3 separate regions of the Homo sapiens genome follow, and regions 2 and 3 are each linked to region 1. Evidence: promoter capture Hi-C in human tissues and cell types (Jung and others, 2019). All regions are on one chromosome and are shown on one strand. Each heading gives the region's core, a stretch centred on a gene start or on the middle of the fragment in contact. The rest is flanking DNA. Distances are from core to core; before and after follow the strand shown.

Evidence for each region. The method cuts DNA at HindIII sites, captures the fragments that hold promoters and counts their contacts. A contact is called where the count stands out against the background at its distance.
Region 2: a contact is called between a fragment that was not itself captured here and the fragment with the promoter of MRAP2 in region 1, in 1 of the 25 tissues and cell types used here (liver).
Region 3: a fragment that was not itself captured here is called in contact with the fragment with the promoter of MRAP2 in region 1 in 4 of the 25 tissues and cell types used here (aorta, hippocampus, neural progenitor cells and 1 more).

Annotation. Positions count from the first base shown.
Region 1 is chr6:84,031,805-84,035,637 of GRCh38, forward strand. It overlaps MRAP2 (melanocortin 2 receptor accessory protein 2), which reads left to right and starts at 1,968. Exons shown (of 4, transcript NM_138409.4): 1 at 1,968-2,079. The HindIII fragment of the contact is 8,786 bases long and covers 1-3,833 here.
Region 2 is chr6:83,981,203-83,985,035 of GRCh38, forward strand. No RefSeq gene overlaps it. Among named protein-coding and RNA genes, the nearest start is that of LINC02857, 38 kb to the right of the region's middle. The HindIII fragment of the contact is 3,785 bases long and covers 28-3,812 here.
Region 3 is chr6:84,089,725-84,093,557 of GRCh38, forward strand. It overlaps MRAP2 (melanocortin 2 receptor accessory protein 2), which reads left to right. Exons shown (of 4, transcript NM_138409.4): 4 at 1-1,157. Among named protein-coding and RNA genes, the nearest start is that of MRAP2, 58 kb to the left of the region's middle. The HindIII fragment of the contact is 4,552 bases long and covers 1-3,833 here.

The sequences.
Region 1 (3,833 bases), core at 718-3,217:
GATTAATAAATCTTATCACAGATTGTCAAATTATGTTATTTAGAATCAAACTGCTTGTGGATGAGGCAGAAGATACATACACACACTATAAAGATGGTTTTCTCTAATGACCAGTGATGATGAGCTTTTTTCCATATGTTTGTTGGCTGCATAAATGTCTTCTTTTGAGAAGTATCTGTTCATATCCTTTGCCCACTTTTTGATGGGGTTGTTTTCTTCTTGTAAATTTGTTTAAGTTGCTTGTACATTCTGGATATTAGACCTTTGTCAGATGGATAGATTGCAAAAATTTTCTCCCATTCTGTAGGTTGCCTGTTCACTCCAAATGCCCATCAATGATAGAATGGATAAAGAAAATGTGGCACACATACACCATAGAATACTATGCAGCCATAAAAAAGGATGAGTTTGTGTCCTTTGCAGGGACATGGATGAAGCTGGAAACCACCATTCTCAGCAAACTAACACAGGAACAGAAAACCAAATGAGCATGTTCTCACTCATAAGTGGGAGTTGAACAGTGAGAACACATGGACACAGGGAGGGGAACATCATACACCGGGGCCTGTCGGGGGTGGGCGGCAAGGAGAGGAAGAGCATTAGGACAAATACCTAATGCAAGCGGGGCTTAAAACCTAGATGACAAGTTGATAAATGCAGCAAACCACGCTGGCACATGTATACCTATGTAACAAATCTGTACATTCTGCACATGTATCCCAGAACTTAAAATTAAAAAAAAGAAGAAGAAGAAAAATGGTGTTCAAAATATTTCATTTTACAAGTGGTAATGAAACTGAGCTTTTAAAAAAAAATCAGTGATGAGATGTCATTTCCAGGAATCCTCTTTTGGCACCACCAGCTTGAGTTCATCACACTGCCACCAGCCTGCATGGGTGCTGCATTTCCCCTGCTGCTGTATAATGGTGGTTAAACTATGGTTCTGGGGCACCAGGCTTCCTGACCTTGAAGGCAAGCTCCTCTATTGACTAGCATATGACCTTGGGCAGTTCCTTTAACCTTCCTAAGTTACAGTTTCTCATCAGTAAAATGGAAATGGTGGCAATACCTGTCTAATATGGCATATGGAGAGTAGTAAAAGAAATGACTAGTGCAGTAAAGAACATCTCAGTGCCTGCCACACAGCAAGTGCTTTCTCTCCAGATACCAGCGTGACTTCTTTCTGTCTCATCTCCTTTAGATCTTTACTCCACTGTGAAGCCATCTTTGACCATCCCATTTAAAAATGCACCCCCTACCTCCAAACATTATCCCATTTCCTCCCTTCTTTTTTGTCCACCGCACTTCATCACTATCTCACATACTATGTATTTTAGTTATTTGTTATGTTTATGCCTGTCTCTTTAGTAGAATGCAAGCACCAAGCACCTGTATTCCCAGATCAATGCCTGGCATGCAATAAGGACTCAAGGGAGGAAGAGATGAGCCAGCCCTGCTATGCTGAAACTACTCCCGGCCCAGTGCTAGCCCTTTGGGACCCCGTTTGAACGTCTGACTGCCCTTTGACACCTGGACCAGTGGGCAGGAAGAGAAACTAAAATCGAGGTAGTAATTTAAGCAGCACATTATGGGGGGGCTCTGGCCTTACTGAACTTGAACTCAATGCTGCCGATTTTTCATAAGCCTTGATTCATGATACCCCACTCCCTCTTGCTCAGCTAATGAGCTCCTCCTGTTACCCAAAGTTGACCCGAGGGACCCACTGCAGAGCCCGGGATGGCAAAGAATTCTCTGACTCAGGCTCTGACCCGGACTCGGAGGGGCAAAGTGAGCAGGAAAGGGATCTGCAAAGCTCACCTCCTCTTGGCCAAGGCGGCCTCGCGCTGGGGAGGCGGCTCTCGCGCTGGGGAGGCGGCTCCCGCGCTGCAGCCCTGCTCCGGCGCCCCGCGCCGCCTCCGCTGCGGGTCGGGAGCGCGCGTCTCCGCCGCACCTCGGATCTAGGAGCTACTCGCCCGGCCCTGGGCGGTGGGAGGCGGCGGCGGCGGCGGCGCTCGCGCACCTCGGAGGAGCCAGGAGCCGGAACCAGGGCCGAGCCCGCGGGCCGGGGCTAGCCAGCCGGTAACCACGGGCGGGACAGGGCGCCCAGGGCGGAGCAAAGCCCGGGCGCTGGGTGCGGGGCGCGTGCAGCTTTGGTCAAGGCAGGGCTTGCTTGGGTTTGGGGGCAGTCTTTAGTTTAGAGGGGCTAGAGAATGGGGTGGGAGGAGGAGAATTGGGGTGTGAGGACGCCCACGGGAAGAGTGTGGACCCCGTGGAGAGCACCAAGTTTAAAACCTTCCCGGCAGCCCGCTGATGTGCGTGTGGACGCCGCTGGGCGTCCGAAAAGCCTGGAAGCGGCGGCGCTCGGGGCTTGGGTGGGCTTCCTCCCCTCCGCTGGGCCCCAGCGGCCGAGGCACACCCTTTCCCGCTGGTGAGAAAACTTTCCTTGCTGCGGCCCTCCTGCCGCCTTGGTGCCCTGCAACTGAGAGAGCCCCCCTGGGCTGGGGAAATGTGCTGGCTCCTGGCCCCGGGCGCGCCTCCATGCACTGGGCAGGGTTCTCAGATGATGCCTGGCTTGACAGTTGCTCATTCATTTTGTTTGGACTGGGGAGCCTGCTCGCAGGTCGTGTTACTGATTAGAGGGAAATAGGGGTTTTACACTTTCCCCGCCGCCCCACCCCGCAACCCGCCCCCGCTCCCCCCGCCCGCCCCGCGCCCCGTGCCCCGTGCCTTTCCCATCCTTTCTGTGTAATTAATTGAGGAAGGCAAAGAGTAGTCTCTGCAGAAACCTGTTTGGAGGCGTTGTGGTTTCCACAGCATGTTAGATGGCACAGAATCTCAGCCACTACTCTGCATTTAGTTTGACAACAGTGAAACACTCTGGTGTTTTGAAGGCAAAGGAAGCTTGAGGGAATGTGTCCAGGGAGACGAGAGAAGGGAACTCTTATGCATAAATTAATTCTTACGAAAACCCCAAAAGTAAACAGTAGTATTTTCAGTTTGCAGGTAGAGAAAATTAGATTGCGATATTAAATACGTTTTCCAAGGTGACTGCCCCAGTTAAGTAATAGTGGGGAGTAGGGGTCTGGAAGCTAGGACTGTGAGTCTAGTTTCCTTTAGGTACATTGCATGGGGTACACAGACAAGAACAGGTGCAGGAGAGTGACGAGGGCCTGCAAGGATAAGGTCAGGAAAGCCAGAGGCCACTGTGAGCTGGGGTACCCACAAGGAGTTTCGTTCTTATGAGGAAGATCATCCAGTGTTTATGGAAGAATAGATAATATTAACAGGTGATAGGAAAAGGAAGAGTTGCTTCCAGTCTGTATCTTTCTTTTCAAAGTGAGGCCAGCCTAAACCCTTTAAAGAGGGTCTCGAAGCCCGAAACTGGACTGGATTGTTCAAAACCCAAATGGCAGACGTCCTAGAGTAGTGAAAGCGGTTACAGTCATCTTTGTGCAGGTATGAGAGATGAGAATGGACCCAGGAGACTTTTTAAAAGAGGGAAACATTGAATCCTGGCAACATTCTAGAACAAATTCTTTAAGATAGCTCAAAACTACCTAGGGAAGCATTTACAAATACTTACGCCAAACCAACTCCCTTCCCTTTTCTAGCAATCTACTGGGATATAGATCAGGGTATGCTGTATCCATTGTCTTCAAATGTGGGCTGTGACTCATTAGGCTAATGATCAGTTTAGTGAGTTGCAAATAGCAGTTTTTAAAACATGAAAGCCAAGAGAAAGAAAGATAAGATATCAGAGTGCATTGCAGGAGCAAGGGAAAGTACTGTTTTGTGAAGCGCGCGCTGGTGATGCATGTGTCCTGTTCTGTGTT
Region 2 (3,833 bases), core at 670-3,169, 51 kb before region 1:
ATAAGGATTGCATTGAATCTCTAGATTGGTTTGGGTAGTATGGACATTTAAATATAATTGGTTCTTCCAATCTATGAACAAGGAATATCTCTCCATTTTTTTGTGTCACCTCCTCAATTTCTTTCACCAGTGTTTTATAATTTTTATTATGGAAATATTTCACTTCTTTGGTTAAATTAGTTCCTAGGTATTTAATTTTCTTTGCAGCTATTGTAAGAAAAACTGATTAAGGTTCGAGAGATTTGTCTGTAAAGTTTTATTAAAGATTGGGGTTGACATTAAGAGTACACTAATGCAAGGGTGAAATTTGGCTTTCTCTCTTGAACAAGATTTTCATCTAATGTTAAAGGATAACGAAATATTTTTGCTTGCCTTTTAAATAAACTACAGGAAAAAGAAGGGAAAGACAAGAGACGGATTGGAAAGCTAAATGTTCCCTCTATCAATAAGTAAAAGTTTTTGCCTTTTTGAAGTTTTTGAGTTATTATTTTGGCAAAATAAATAACTTATGGTGACCTGGAATTCTATTTTATAATATCAAATGTTTGAAATCTTTAACATATTTGACAGGCCTCCCAAAATCAAATTTCAGCTTCAAAATTGTCTTTTCCAACCTCTAACTTTGGGATACTACAGAGGGCCCCTGAAGCATCCAAAAGATAGGTAAACAGGATTATTTGACATGTTAAGTTACATGGGAAGTATTGTCAAAATAAAAAATAATGTTTACTTTTCTTCAGGTTATATTTTAGCGAATGTTAATATATGTTCCAAAATTGTATGGGATTTCTAAAATTCTAATATGACTAAATATATACTATCAATCATAATTATGGTTACTGTATTAGTCCATTTTCATGCTGCTGATAAAGACATACCTGAGACTGGGCAATTTACAAAAGAAAGAGGTTTCATTGGACTTACAGCTCCACATGGCTGGGGAAGCCTCACAATCATGGTGGAAGGCAAGAAGGAGCAAGTCCTTCTTACATGGATGGCAGCAGGCAAACAGAGAATGAGGAAAATGCAAAAGTGGAAACCCCAGATAAAACCATCAGATCTTGTGAGACGTATTCACTACCATGACAATAGTATGGGGGAAACCACCCCCATGATTCAATTATCTCCCACTGAGACCCTCCCACAACACATGGGAATTATTGGAGTACAATTCAAGATGAGATTAGGGTGGGGACACAGAGCCAAACCATATCAGGTATTATGTTAGTTATTGTAGATCACAGAAATAACCAAATTTCCATGTCAATTGTGTTTTTATGACTGTTTAAAGTCATTTCTACAGTTAATTGCTTAATTCTGATGCAGTTTTTGAAAACTTCACAAGCACTGAAAATCCTAGAATATGATATATTTTAGGAGGTTTATGAAAGGATGGAACGGACCCTGAAAAGCACTCTTGAATACAGGTAAGAATTCCTATAACTTTAATGAAAAGGCTGACTGGTTTATAAAACCACTAACCCAGGTAGAACAAAATTAATTGAATACCAAGAAAATACTTTGCCAGATTTTCATGCTAAATCAACCAATACTGAAATTGTTTAGATACACAATTTAAATGAACTCCATGGTCTAAGTCAAATTACCTATGACAACCCATTAGTTGTCAGTGCTACGCACCTAAATTGGATAAACAACTGGTATTCAAGAGAACATAAGTCCAACATTAAGCATGGGCTCACGGAGAACCAGGAGGGCTGCCTTGTCCTTTCTGAGTTCTCAAAACTTTTGTTATTAAAGGTTTTGCATTCTGTGACTCATCATGGAAAACATAAAATGATCCAAATTAAATATATATTGGTGTGGTGATTTCTAAATTGCTAAAATAGTTTATGACCAATGTTTGGTTTGTGAAACCCATATTCCTTGGAAGACAAAGCTTTAGGTACGTTTGGCAACTTTATGGGCCATTCAGACATTTATAGAGGGATTTCATTCAGTTGTCATTTTCAATGCATGTTTTCTGGTTGTATAAAAGCTTTCCCATGCAAGAGGGCTGGCATTATAACAGTAGATTATTATACCACCATGTATTTTCACCAGGTAAAGAAAGCATTTCATGGTTCACTTATTGAGGACCATCAACCACTTCATAATTTAGAACCTGAAGATCGGATCTTCTGAGAACCTCAGAGAAAGACTGCCCTTGTCATCCACACTGCAGCAAAACTTCAGGACCTTGAACCTTGGGCTAATAATTTCACAACTGAGACGGCTTCATCTACACCCTTGGAACTATACCCATTAGAACCCTTAAGGTAAAGCTAACCAAGGAAGTTTCTACCCAGAAGAAGATTGCATCCTTGATATGAACAGCTTTTTCCCAAGATCATGCATCAAGACTTCTCTACTATCATGAGACTCTTACTTTGAATATTTTTCCCTTGCTTATGCCTCTATGAACAATAGAAGTGAAAAGGGGGTCTGTTGTGTGTACTAATTGTGTATACTTTGATTTGTGAAGGATTTTGAAGCCAGCCTTATACATGGATAAGCTTATACCTTGATAGATGGAAGATGAGGCGCAATGAAGGTAAGAAATTTTAAAGGTACATATGTGGCCTCATAGTCAGAAATAACACATTTGTTCATTCTTCTTAACCCACATCATGGGTTAAAGAGAACAATGCCAGGAGGCCTTCACTCTTCTAGAAGGGCATTATTTATTAGGTCCTTTTCCACCATGGTTTGGGGTAAAAGAGACAGTGACTAGAAATTTATCCCTCATAATAAGCTCTATAGCAGATTCTATTGTAAAGGCTATGGTTGCAAAACAGACTTTAAATTCTCTTGTGAAAGTTATGCTAAATAATGGAATTGCTGTAGATTACTTACTGGCTAAACAGAGAAGTGTCTGTGCAGCTGCTGGCACTTGTGGCCTGTGGAGAAATACATCACATCAGGTATTACAGAGATTCAGCTGTAGGGGATTAATGAAGAGACTGCTTAGTTAAGTAGGCAGACCCTTTATCTAGCTTATTCTTTGATCTATTTAATTTTAGGTGGTTTGGATATGGGGATCTTGGGTAACTCTTCGTGTTATGCTCCGATATTCATGATAGTAGTCTCCCTGATATACTGTATTCTCTTAAAAGATTTAAATTTTTGCATGCAGCCATCTCTAGAAAGTCAAATGGTCTCTCCAACTGGAATGACAAGAGCTGAAAGAAATGTGTGACCCTGAGGGCACTGTAACCTATAAATGACATGCTGAGACCAGAAACCCAAAATGGTAGTAACTAAGAGTGACACAAAAGCCCTAAGTTTTGGTCACACTCTCACCTAAGTGAGAACCTGACCAAAAAGGGGAGTTTTTTAACAAAATTATGGGAGGCCATTGTTTTTGACTGAACTCATGCACAAGGCCCCAACAGAGCAGACCAAACCAAAATGGAGTCACTCATACTACCCGTGACATAATCAAACTAAGACTTTAAGGAAACACACAGATCCTAGAAGAGACCAGGTTTTGGGTTTTTTCCTCCTGTTTCTCCTGTTTGTTTGTTTGTTTGTTTGTTTGTTTGTTAACAGGGGAAAAAAAACCCAAACCTGGTCTCTTCTAGGATCTGTGTGTTCCACCATAGAGTAGAAGGTCCCTCCTTGTCCTAGAGAAGATCTAGAACACATTTCTAGGACAGAATGTATAAGCCAGCCTTATCCATGGATAAACTTATACCTTGATAGATGGAAGATGAGGCCCAATGAAGATGAGAAACACATATCTATGACATTCCAGCATAAGAATCTAAGGTATAATTCCTACATGACAGGAATCTGCTCCATTAACAGTTGGTAGATCTCACTTGTAAAAC
Region 3 (3,833 bases), core at 793-3,292, 58 kb after region 1:
AAGCTTGTCCAACCCGTGGCATGTGTCCCAGGACAGCTTTGAATGTGGCCCAATACAAATTTTAAACTTTATTAAAACATGAGTTTTGTTTTTTTTTTTGCTATTTTTTTTAAAGCTCGTCAGCTATCGTTAGTGTTAGTGTACTTTATGTGTGGCCCAAGACAACTCTTCTTCCAGTGTGGCACAGGGAAGCTAAAAGATTGGACACCTCTGATTTATACTAGCTCGTTTTGCTTGTTGAAAAATTTGGCCAAATACCTATTGTCAGCATTCTTGGGTGAGGATTAGCCTACCATGTTCTAATCTGGCCCTGCCACTACTATGCTCTACCTTTGGTGAGTTGCTTTACCTCTCTGGGCTGCCCCATTTTTAACTGTAGGTTGACAGGTCTAGAGTGATCCATCCCACCTCTAATATTTTGTGAATTTATGACTTTGCCTTCAGATGAGGCTGAGCTATACATAAAACAGTATAAACTAGGGTACTGCCTCGTATCTCTTGTAGGCTCTCTCAAATCTCTGTACCTTCCACTTAACCCTAATTGAGCCAAGCTTTAGTCAGGGGATCTGGTTGTCTACCAGAATGTCAGGAGACTCATCTTACACAGTCATGGTGGCCAATGTTTCTGGTGGGTTGTGCTGAAACAGCTCTTCTGAGAACTTCCAACCACCCATGCTCTAACCTGGAGACAGCCATCCCCTGCCTCAGAATAAGTACCAATTCGTAGTACATGTATGGTACTCTTGTCCCCAAGAAATGTTAGGAAGCTTGTCAGCTGAATGAGAGGAGGTGCCTTCTGGGTATCTCTGTGTTGGTGTATCTGTGCCATTGGCTACAGAACAAGAAAAATACTATTTGCCATGCTATTACCTTGGCAGATGTGTAGGTGATAGTCATCTGGCTTTGAGCTGAGATGGTCAGTGGGTTGTAAATTCCCCACTAGCAGATATTCAGGGTGGCCTGAGTTATGTAAACAAGTGAGCAACACAGCTTTAATTTCATGGAGGAATCAAAGCTGCACACTGGTATTAAAACAACTTGATTTTGCGCACACAGTTGCATGCATGGCAAGCTGTTAACCTCTGGGTGGCATTTTCATTATGAATTTGTTCACCACCTGTCTTGCTTAAGCTACAAAATAAATGCATTTGACTGCACAGAAATTTCCTCTGGTTCTTTATTTTCACACATCCAATTTTTTGTTTCCCAAAAAGTTGTACCATGTTTATAATGTCTCCTAACTTCTTGGAGTAGGCAGTGCTGACTGTACCATCTCTGGGATTCTGGTGATCTGAGCCATGCATGAGATTTAGGGATTATTTCGCTAAAAGAAATCCCTTTTCTATTGTGTATTTTAAAGAAAATATCATTCTTTAAGACTCTAAATAGTAAAACAAAGCATGGAATTTTTTTGTAATTAAAGCTACTTTAACATATTTTTTATAAATAGATGCTATTTTCATGAATTTTTTATGCAAGAGAGCAAGAGTATTAAAGAATGCTGAGTTTGTTAACTTTTTTTTTTTTTTTTTTTTTTTGAGAGACGGAGTCTTGCTCTGTCGCCCAGGCTGGATGGCTCACTGCAGCCTCCCCTCCTGGGTTCAAGTGATTCTCCTGCCTCAGCTTCCCAAGTTGCTGGGACTACAGGCACGTGCCACCACGCCTAGCTAATTTTTGTATTTTTTAGTAGAGACGAGATTTCACTATATGTTGGCCAGGCTGGTCTCGAACTCCTGACCTCAAGTTATCTGCCTGCCTTGGCCTCCCAAAGTGCTGGGATTGCAGGTATGAGCCACCATGCCTGGCCAGAGTTTAACTTCTAATATGAGTATGATTATTCATAATTTATTTAATGAAATATAAATCATGGGCTATTATTAAAGTTCACAGCTACTTAAGTGGTATCTTATTTAGAAGTAGATTTATTGATCAGAAGATTGAAAGATACTTAAACGTCAGACAAATACCCATGACTATATCATCATTTTTATGAACTAAATGTTAAGAACTGTGAATGGTCCAAGATTTTGCCCCTTCTGCAAATCAGCTTGCCATAGTCTCATGGATGCTGCCAGAAGACACAAGAGTCTTGGGTCAGAGACAAAAATCTTCATTACAGCACAGCAGGCCACATATGCTTCATGCTCATGTTGGTTCCTGAGTTTGTTTCCTACTGCTGTTGTAACGAATTACCACAAATTTAGTGACTTAGAGCAACACAAATTTATTCTCTTCCAGTTCTAGAGTAGACAAGTCTAAAATCAGTTTCAGTGGGCTAAAATCAAGGTGTTAGCACAGCAGCATTCCATCTGGAGGCTCTCAGGATTAATCAGTTTTCTTGCCTTTTCTATCTTCCAGGGGTTGCTCCCACTCTGTGGCTCCTCTTCTTCCACTTTACATCTCTGTCTTTAACCATCCTGCTTCTCTCTTATAAGGACCTTTGTGATTACATTGGGTTACCTAAGATGATCTCCCCATCTTGAGATCCTTCATTTAATCACATCTGTAAAGTGTGTGCCTTTTGCCACATAAGGCTACATATTGACAGGTTTCAGGGATTAGGATGTGGACATGCTTGGGGAACCATTAGCCTGCTAGTCTTCCCTTTGGCCCCAAAGGTTTATATCCATTCTATATGCACAATACATACACCCCATCCCAATATACTCCACAGTCTCAATTCATTATAGAATCAATTCAAAGTCACATGTATTACCTAAATCTTATCAGCTTAAAAGTCCCAAATCTTATTATCTTAACCATCTAATTTCAGTATTAGTGAGATCCTGGGTATGATTCATCCTGGGGAAAAACTCTCCATCTGTGGACCTGTAAAACTAGAAAATAAGTTATTTTCTCCCAAAATACAATGATGTGACCGACATAAGATACTAGTTACTAATAGTTGTCTTTCAGTATATGCAGGGGATTGGTTCCAGGCCCCCTGTATACACCAAAATCCTAGCATACTTAAGTTCCACAGTAGGTCCTGCAGAACCCGTGTATATGAAAATTAGCTCTCCGTATAGGTGGGTTTCGCATCCCAAGAATACTGTATTTTCAATCCCCATTTGGTTGAAAAAAAATCTGCATACAAGTGGACACGTGCAGTTCAACCCTATGTTGTTCAAGGATCAACCGTATTCCCATTCCAAAAAGGAGAAAATGGAAGGAAAAAATGAATCATCAGTCCCCAAAATAACAAATCCTTCAAACTGGGAAAACTGTTAAGCTGCAAGGCCTGGAAATAGTCTTTTGTGACTTCTGGCTACATTCTCTGGGCCTGAAGCTCCACTCTTGGAATCATCTTTTCTTTTTCTTGAAAGGTACAATGTGTTTTTAGCTGAGTAGTTTTATCAGCCTTTTTTTCTGCATGTAGAATTTTGGGAGTCTGATAGCCTTCATTTATCTTGCCCTCACTCTGTCCATTTCAGTTGAAGTTGTTATCAGTGCCCTGGGTTCTTGTAATCTTCCAGTATAGACATCAAGAGAGATCACCAAACATAGGAGCAAAGAGAAAGAGAGAGAATAGGGCAAGAAAAATAGAGAGAGAGAAAGAAAAAGGGAATGGGGACTTATCCTATGTAGGAACTTGACTCACCGAGGCACCAGGGTGAAACAATGGTGCAGCTGCCTTGGTTTGTGCCTGGTCAGCCATCTCTGTCGTCTGGGCTGTGCCATTTGCTCCCACAGGACCCTAAAATGAGGGTTCTATCTGGAGTGCCATGAGATGTAATCAGCACCCTGGGTTCTTGTAATCTTCCAGGATGGAAATACAGATCACCAGACATAACAGCAAAGAGAAAGAGAAAGCTTTATTTTAGCTTGTACAC